Regions from separate parts of the Homo sapiens genome. Here region 1 is linked to region 2. The links are contacts of gene promoters, found by promoter capture Hi-C in blood cells and fetal thymus (Javierre and others, 2016). All regions are on one chromosome and are shown on one strand. Each heading gives the region's core, a stretch centred on a gene start or on the middle of the fragment in contact. The rest is flanking DNA. Distances are from core to core; before and after follow the strand shown.

The links. The method cuts DNA at HindIII sites, captures the fragments that hold promoters and counts their contacts. A CHiCAGO score of 5 or more calls a contact.
Region 1: a fragment that was not itself captured here is called in contact with the fragment with the promoter of SLC9A2 in region 2 in 2 of 17 cell types (megakaryocytes and erythroblasts); the score reaches 6.3 in megakaryocytes.

What each region holds. Positions count from the first base shown.
Region 1 is chr2:102,233,396-102,237,039 of GRCh38, forward strand. IL1RL2 (interleukin 1 receptor like 2) reads left to right here. Exons shown (of 12, transcript NM_003854.4): 11 at 1,502-1,882. Among named protein-coding and RNA genes, the nearest start is that of IL1RL2, 48 kb to the left of the region's middle. RefSeq lists enhancers at 1,447-1,947, 1,948-2,448. The HindIII fragment of the contact is 3,960 bases long and covers 1-3,505 here.
Region 2 is chr2:102,616,948-102,621,011 of GRCh38, forward strand. It overlaps SLC9A2 (solute carrier family 9 member A2), which reads left to right and starts at 2,606. Exons shown (of 12, transcript NM_003048.6): 1 at 2,606-3,190. The coding sequence starts at 2,902. RefSeq lists a silencer at 2,214-2,323. The HindIII fragment of the contact is 5,203 bases long and covers 1-3,745 here.

The sequences.
Region 1 (3,644 bases), core at 276-2,775, 380 kb before region 2:
AGCCATTCACAGAAACAGGTGGCCAGTGATGTAGTGGTGGCTAAAGGACTGAAAGGTGGCGAGTGGTCATTTGAGCCTCACATCCCTGAGATGAACTGCTGGGTGTTTTCCATGGGTTTGAACAATGTAAATCAGGTCGTGCTTAAAGCTGATTTTATAAACCTCGACCCTACTTGCCCCCTCCCCTCCCTAAATATAATGGAAGTTTTAGTGTACTTTTCCCACTTGATAGGAAGGTGGCTTTGGACAGTTCAGTTAACTTCTCTCAACCTCAGTTGTCTCATCTGTAAAATGGGGATGGGGTGCTTCCCTGACTCAGATGAGAGAACTGAATGAGAAAACCTGAGAAGGGGTCCCCGGCATGGAGCTCAGCACACTTTAGACACTCACACAACAGTGCTTTCCTGTCCCTTTGTTCTCCTTCTTGGAAGGCTATACAGCAAAATGGCTGAAATCTGAAATAAACATTCTTTTCTAGTCACCAGTAAATGCCAATTCACTCACTTATTCAACAAATATTTACTGAAAACCTCTATGTGATGGACAGTATTCTAGGCACTAGAAATATGAAAATCAGCCAAGCGGAAGGGCCTGTCCTCAGGGAGGTTCCAGTCTATTCTTATTTCCCATGAGAGGCAACTGTAGACTGAATAGCATCTGCAGAGCTGGGTATTTAGAGAAACCTCCCTTTCCCAAGCAATCATCAGGGCATGTTATTTGGTTTCTAAATTACTCACATAAATCCTGGTCATTTAAATAACTATAAAGAACAAAAGGAAAACACAGATTCAAGATTAATGCAACATTTCAGCTAACTACATTTTCCTATCCTTTTAAAATCTATTTTTAAAAACGTGTTCATCTGCTAATATACACCAGACCTTCAGCTAGTCTGGGGATACAGAGTTAGGAACCATCAGATACTTGTTGGCCAGGGAAAGTGACATACAAAGAAACCACATGCAAAACATGATTCATGACTATAGAGGACCAAGGCTCCAGGGAAAGCCACAAAGGCTTCACAGAAGAGGTGACAAATATTAAAAAAAAGAAAAAACCCAAAACTTGAATTAATCCATTCCTGACTAAGTCATGTTTATTTTAAAGTCCATTTTTGGCCAGGCAAGGTGGCTCACACCTGTAACCCCAGCACCTTGAGAGGCCGAGGTGGGCAGATCACTTGAGGTCAGGAGTTCAACACCAGCTTGTGGTAAAACCCCGTTTCTACTAAAAATGCAAAAATTAGCTGGACGTGGTGGTACGTGTCTGTAATCCCAGGTACTTAGGAGGCTGAGGCAGGAGAATCGCTTGAACCTGGGAGGTGGAGGTTGCAGTGAGCTGAGATTGCATCCCTGCACTCCAACCTGGGCAACACAGTGAGACTTCACTTCAAAAAAAAAAAGTCAATTTTCTCCTGGCCTGTTTCAAACATTCTCACTAGCATTAAGACCCGGGCTGTTTTAATTGTGAGTTCTTCTGAGCCTTCTTTCTTTATTTCCAGCCGTGGCCAATGTCATCGATGAAAACGTTAAGCTGTGCAGGAGGCTGATTGTCATTGTGGTCCCCGAATCGCTGGGCTTTGGCCTGTTGAAGAACCTGTCAGAAGAACAAATCGCGGTCTACAGTGCCCTGATCCAGGACGGGATGAAGGTTATTCTCATTGAGCTGGAGAAAATCGAGGACTACACAGTCATGCCAGAGTCAATTCAGTACATCAAACAGAAGCATGGTGCCATCCGGTGGCATGGGGACTTCACGGAGCAGTCACAGTGTATGAAGACCAAGTTTTGGAAGACAGTGAGATACCACATGCCGCCCAGAAGGTGTCGGCCGTTTCCTCCGGTCCAGCTGCTGCAGCACACACCTTGCTACCGCACCGCAGGTGAGCGGGTGGGAGGACACGAGGTTTGTCACGCACTGATGGAGGGTCTATCATTGCGTGGTGGCTCACAGCTGGAGGAGGACACGTTTCATCGGGGCCGTCTGCTCTGAAGCTGGCAGTTGCGTACTAGTGAGAGGATCTGTTGTGTTTGTTGTCATTTGTTTGCTTCGATCAGAGCTGCTTCTTCAGGGAAACACACGGCTTCTGCAGAAGGCCCTCTTTAGCCTATGGGCTTATTGACACATGCCCACTCACTGAGGCCTGGATGGATACAGCACTTGGGCCCCTTGAGAACAGGACATGGAGGGTTTTAGAAATGGCAGTGGACATGCCCGGAAGTTTGCCCATGATGTGGCACCCATAGAGTCTGAGATGGGAGCCTGTGCTGTCGGGGGACCACAGGAGGGCAGTCTAGCACCAGGAGAGGGTTGGCAAGGATAGCAGTATTTGTCCACGCCTGTCCAGTGTCTTCAGGGCCCCATGCTCAGGGGTCATTTGCTGTGTCTGCGTCTCTCTCACTCTGTCAGTGCAGACAAAGAGCTGCAAACACAGCCTTAGCACTTTGCTTCCAGAAGCAAGTTAAAAGTCACCTAGACCAGTGGGGACCCACGGGAGTGGCCATGACTGCCTCTTGGTCACCCTTCCATGTTTGAGAGGCTTTATCTGTCAAACTAAAGCAAGCAGGAATTCCTTTTCTCTCTCTTTTAGACACATGTCAACCAGAATTCTGAGCAGCCTGTGAGAGACGCAATTAGCACACAGATGATAGAATTATAGTCCAAGCAAGGCAAAGTCAGTTTCCAATGAGCCAATGTGCCCTTGTCACAGGCCAATTTATAACTTAATGATTAAAGGTTTTTAATACTAAAAATTAGCTGTAAACCCTCATCACTTTTTTCCAAGACCCTGGCCTGAGGGAATTAGGCATAGCTCAACCTTCTGAAGCTGTGGGTTGTTGACACTGAGACTTAGTAAGCAGTCAGTGGGGGCTGGAAGGGAGTCAGCCCTGAGAGCCAGCCGGCAGGGGCGAGAGAGGGAGCCAGAGGGTGTCAGGAGGCCTGTGGTCTTAGGATGGCATGGGGAGCAGGGTGGGTTAGGAGGTGCTGTGCCCTCGTTCACAGGCGATGGGTGGTACCCAGTGTGGGATGGACTTTCAGGTGCTAAGGAACCCACTCCTGTCTTTGAAGAGTTTATGTTCCAAGGTGACCTCACATTACACATTTGTTTAGCATCCTATGGAGGCCTCGACTTGACATTGGTCCACTCTTTATTTAACATTTGCTTTTTAAAATTTTTATTTCGGTAAACTATATGAACATAAAATTCACCATTTTAACAATTTTTAAGTGGCATTAAGTACATTCACACTGTTGTGCGGCCATCACCACCATCCATTCCAGAATTGTTTCATCCTCTCAAGCTGAAATTCTGTGCCCATTAAGCTATGCCTCCCTATTGCCTTCCCATTGCCTTCCCATTGCCTCCCCATTGCTCTGAGGTAGGACATAAAATACATTTTAAGAATAACAGCATTAAAAAATGGCTACTATAATTCATTACTACTATTACATTTTTGATACTTTTCAATAAAAAGAAAGTAGTGACACATGTTGGAAAGAGGGAAGCTTTTTGACTTATAAAACTCCAGTTAAAGAATTTACCAACAGTGCTGGTCTCCGGGAAGTCAGAGGTTTCCAGAAAATACCTTTTCGTCTGACGGGTCAGCTTTCTATTTTGCTGACAGCCTCGACTGATGTCCTGT
Region 2 (4,064 bases), core at 1,356-3,855:
GTCTCCGGGCAATATGCTAGGAGCTAAAGATAAAAGAATGAGTTAAACAGACCAATACCTTCACAGAGATGTTCAGTGGGAGAAAAGCAAAATGATTAAGTGCTGAAAAGTTATGGGAGATCAAAGGGCATAAAAGAAGACCCCCCAATTAGTCCAGAAATTCAGCTACCAGGTGAGACGTCCAAAGGTCGCTAAGAAACCACTAAAGGATTTTAAATGTGTACACACGTTTCGCTTCTTGCTTCAGTCATCCCATGGGTGGTGTTATCACTTTCACGGCTGAGCTCCTAGTCAGAGGGCACTTTGAAGAAATAGCCAGGCCAAGTCGCTCTCAGCATAGGGGCATAATTTAACTCTTTTTAAATTTGCTTTAAGGGAAAGATGAAAAGAATGTCTTTTTAGACTAATTTCTTCGCCTCCCATTTACAAGAATAAATAAAACGACTTTTTTTTCAAATGTAAAAAAAAGTGGATAGCCTTTAACTGCAGTAGCATAGATGTATAAAGTTGAAGTGATACCACATAAGGTTTACAGGCAGTGAGGGCCCGGAAACAGATTTGTCATTCATTTTCTTGTTCATGATACACAATTATTCTTAAAAGTGTTGTGTGACAAACTCCTAGAAAGTATTGTCTAAATGTGCCCTCTCCCTATTACTATGTCACTAAGTTTGTAGAACTGCCTGATTCACTTACCAAAACTTTATCCTGCTGTAACTTTTTTGAACAATCCCTGTAATATTCTCCACTGCTTATTTTAAAGTAGCTGAGAATATAGCGTGCTGTTTATGGGCAACTAGTCATGGGGTAGAGGGTGAGATGATACCAGTGTTAGCCTGGGCAGGCCTGGGTGTGAATTCCATCCAGACACTTACTTAATATGTAAACTTGATTAAGTCTATTTGTTTATTTTTACACATTTCTACACTATATTTCTTCACTTATAAAATGGGTAAAAAATATCTGCCTCTTTGGATTTTTACGATTGACAAAAAAATGCAAGTAAAGTGCCTTGTATTGAGCTTCCCATGTAGAGACAGATACTCAAAAAATTTAAAAATCTCTTATTTGCTGCCTTTTCACAGGGGTATGTTAGGCACATACCTTTAATAAACGTTTCCAGTGAAAGGAGAAGGGGAGGCTGAGTTTTGGATGCCCAATGATTCTTCTCAAGATAATATCTTTAGTTTCAATTCTGTAGCGCTTTTGAAAAACTGATGCTTTGTGAAATATCAAATGAAGTAGTGCTCTGTAACATCTCCCAGAATTCTTCTCTCTTTTTAGCCTGGACTTGTCCCTCCATTACTTTGAAGACCCAAAGAGGACTGTTCCTTATTTTCTTCTATGCAGGTGGAGGATTTTTTTTTCTTGTACCCTCTGCTGACATCTCACTGATTTTCTATGTTAGAACTTTGAAAGAAAAAAAAAAAAAAAACGGCTTTGAAGGTCGAACTGCCTGGTGTTTGTTTAATAGTAGAAGCCACGTGTTTTGACACATCAAAGATTAAGAAAAGAGAAGGATTTTATTTCATAAATATCAAAGGGAAAACTTTCAGTTAATTGAATGGCAACTAGTCCCCTTTGTGCTCATTTCGGTTTCTGGCGATAAAGATGCTCAAACAGTGAGATCGCAACCAGTGAAGGAGGCGCTCTGAAGGACAGGAAAGGTTGGCTCTGCATGAGAAAGCCCTTTTAGATCCAGAAGAAGAATCACGCTTCCTTTCTTTTCCTGACCACAGCCTGTCCTGTAATTAGCGGAGCAAGTCAATCTGAGCGAGGCAAATCACTGGTTTTCCATGAAATAATTATATTTCTTATGCTCTTGGACATGTACACCTCTAAGCCTAAAAGCGGAGAAAGATGTTTTGGTTTTTTTTACGTGAGCTGGGGGAGGGAGAAGAAAAGTGGCAGCGACAGTGTAGCAAATGGGTGAAAGCAGCACAATGTGGCAAGAGGAGAGAACAGGATTCCGATTCCGTGGGGGCGTGGGAACACTGAGTTCCGCGCAGGGAGTTTCCCTGTTCAGAGCACCTTGTGCGCGAGTTGATAACTCTCGGAAAGGAAACAAAATTTGGCTTTCCTAAACTTTCTGTACGTCCAGAGAATCCCATGCCTTGTCTTGGCCTCCGCAGCGCCAGGCTGGGGTGACAGCACTCCTCCTCCACCGGCCCGGGCTTCTCCTCCGGACCGCGAGCCTGTGGCGCCTCCCCGCGCGCCCAGCGCACCGGGGTGTCCCCTTGGAGGAGCCTGCGGGGGCGGGGGAGGAGGGAAGGGCGCGACTCGTGGGTCGCGCTGGTTCCTTCACTGGATGGACGTCCGACGCTGCCTCCGGGGCGGAGACAGCTCCGGCCACCATGCGCCCGTTGCGGCGATTCCACCCACAGTTCGCTGGCTCTGGGGGTGGCGGGTCTTGGCGCGCGGTGCCTGCGCGAAGGGAGGGCAGCCATCGCCCCCGCGGTCACTGGGGCCCCGCGTTCCCCGCGGGCTCGGGCAGGTGCGCGGTGTGCCGGCCAGGTCCCCTTGTCCTCCTGCCCTGCGGCTTGGGCGCCGCGCCCGCCCCGCCCCCGCCCGCGGGCCGCCCTGGGCAGGGCCTGCCGCTGCGGCTGGAGAGCAGCGCACCGGCATGGGCAGGCGGCCGGCGGCGGAGGGCGGCTGAGGGCTGCTGAGGGTACGCGCAGCGGCCTCTCGTCGCCCTGCACGTGCCTCGCCAGGCAGTGCGCCTGCTCGCAGCGAGGACCTAGCCCTCTGGTTGCAGAGACCCGGTGCCGCAGCAGCGGCGGGTGGCTGTCGCTGCCCTGCCCTGCACGGGGCAGGGCGGAGCGGGCTGAGCAGCCCGGGCGCGATGCGTTGAGCGCTCGGAGGGCCAACCGCCGGTCCCCTTGGCGGCAACCGGCGGCACCCATGGAACCACTGGGCAACTGGAGGAGCCTGCGGGCGCCACTGCCTCCGATGCTGTTGCTGCTGCTCCTGCAGGTGGCGGGGCCCGTGGGCGCCCTGGCGGAGACCTTGCTGAACGCGCCGAGGGCCATGGGCACCAGTTCCAGCCCGCCTAGCCCTGCGAGCGTGGTGGCTCCCGGAACGACGCTGTTCGAGGAGAGCCGGCTGCCTGTGTTTACGCTGGATTACCCCCACGTGCAGATCCCCTTCGAGATCACCCTTTGGATCCTGCTGGCCTCCCTGGCCAAGATTGGTGAGCGAACTGGACTTGTGGGGAATGGGAGGGGGCGATCTCGGGGGGACACCTGGAGGGTGACCGGGTCAGCCAGCTGACCTCTAGATAGTGACCGCCTCATCTTGAATCAGGGCAGGGACGACAGATGGAGCAGCTTCTTCTGGTTGAAAAGGACCCTTGGAAGAGCAGTTTCGCGTTTTGGTTCTTAAGGGAACATTGGCCTTGAAATGGCCCCAAGTGTAAGTTCTACAAACTCAGCGATTGCTGCTTACTTCTGCCGCACGGAACGCCAAGTTTGTCAGCTCTCTGCTTAAGTTGAGTGAGATCTGTTTATTGAAGTGTACCAGTCTCACCTGCAGGGAGAGAGGTGCCGACGAACCCCGGAGCTATGCATAATGTGGTTAAAACCCTGGATGCTACAGGAGAGAGGCGCCTTGGCAGTGACACAGACCCTGCTGTGCGCCTGACTAATGAGGTGCATGGAAGGGGACCAGGGACACCTGAGTGCTTGCAGCTGCAATAGGAACGCCCTTTCTCCTCCCTCTATTGGGTTGAGGCTGTCACTCTCCAGGAAGCTTTTGCTTCGGGGTGGCTGAGGCCAGTGAGGTGAGATGCATATTTAAAAATAATTAACTCTGGGCCCAGGACAATGGCCCAGCCTGTAATCCCAGCACACTGGGAGGCCCAGACGTGAGGATCCCTTGAGGCCAGGAGTTCAAGATCATCATGGGCAACATAGCAAGACCAAACAGTACAAAAATAAAAAATTGGCCGGGCGAGGTGATTCACGCCTGTAATCCCAGCACTTTGGGAGGCTGAGGCAAGGTGGATCACGAGGATCACTGATCAACATGGTGAAACCTCGTCTCTACTAAAAATACAAAAAAATTAG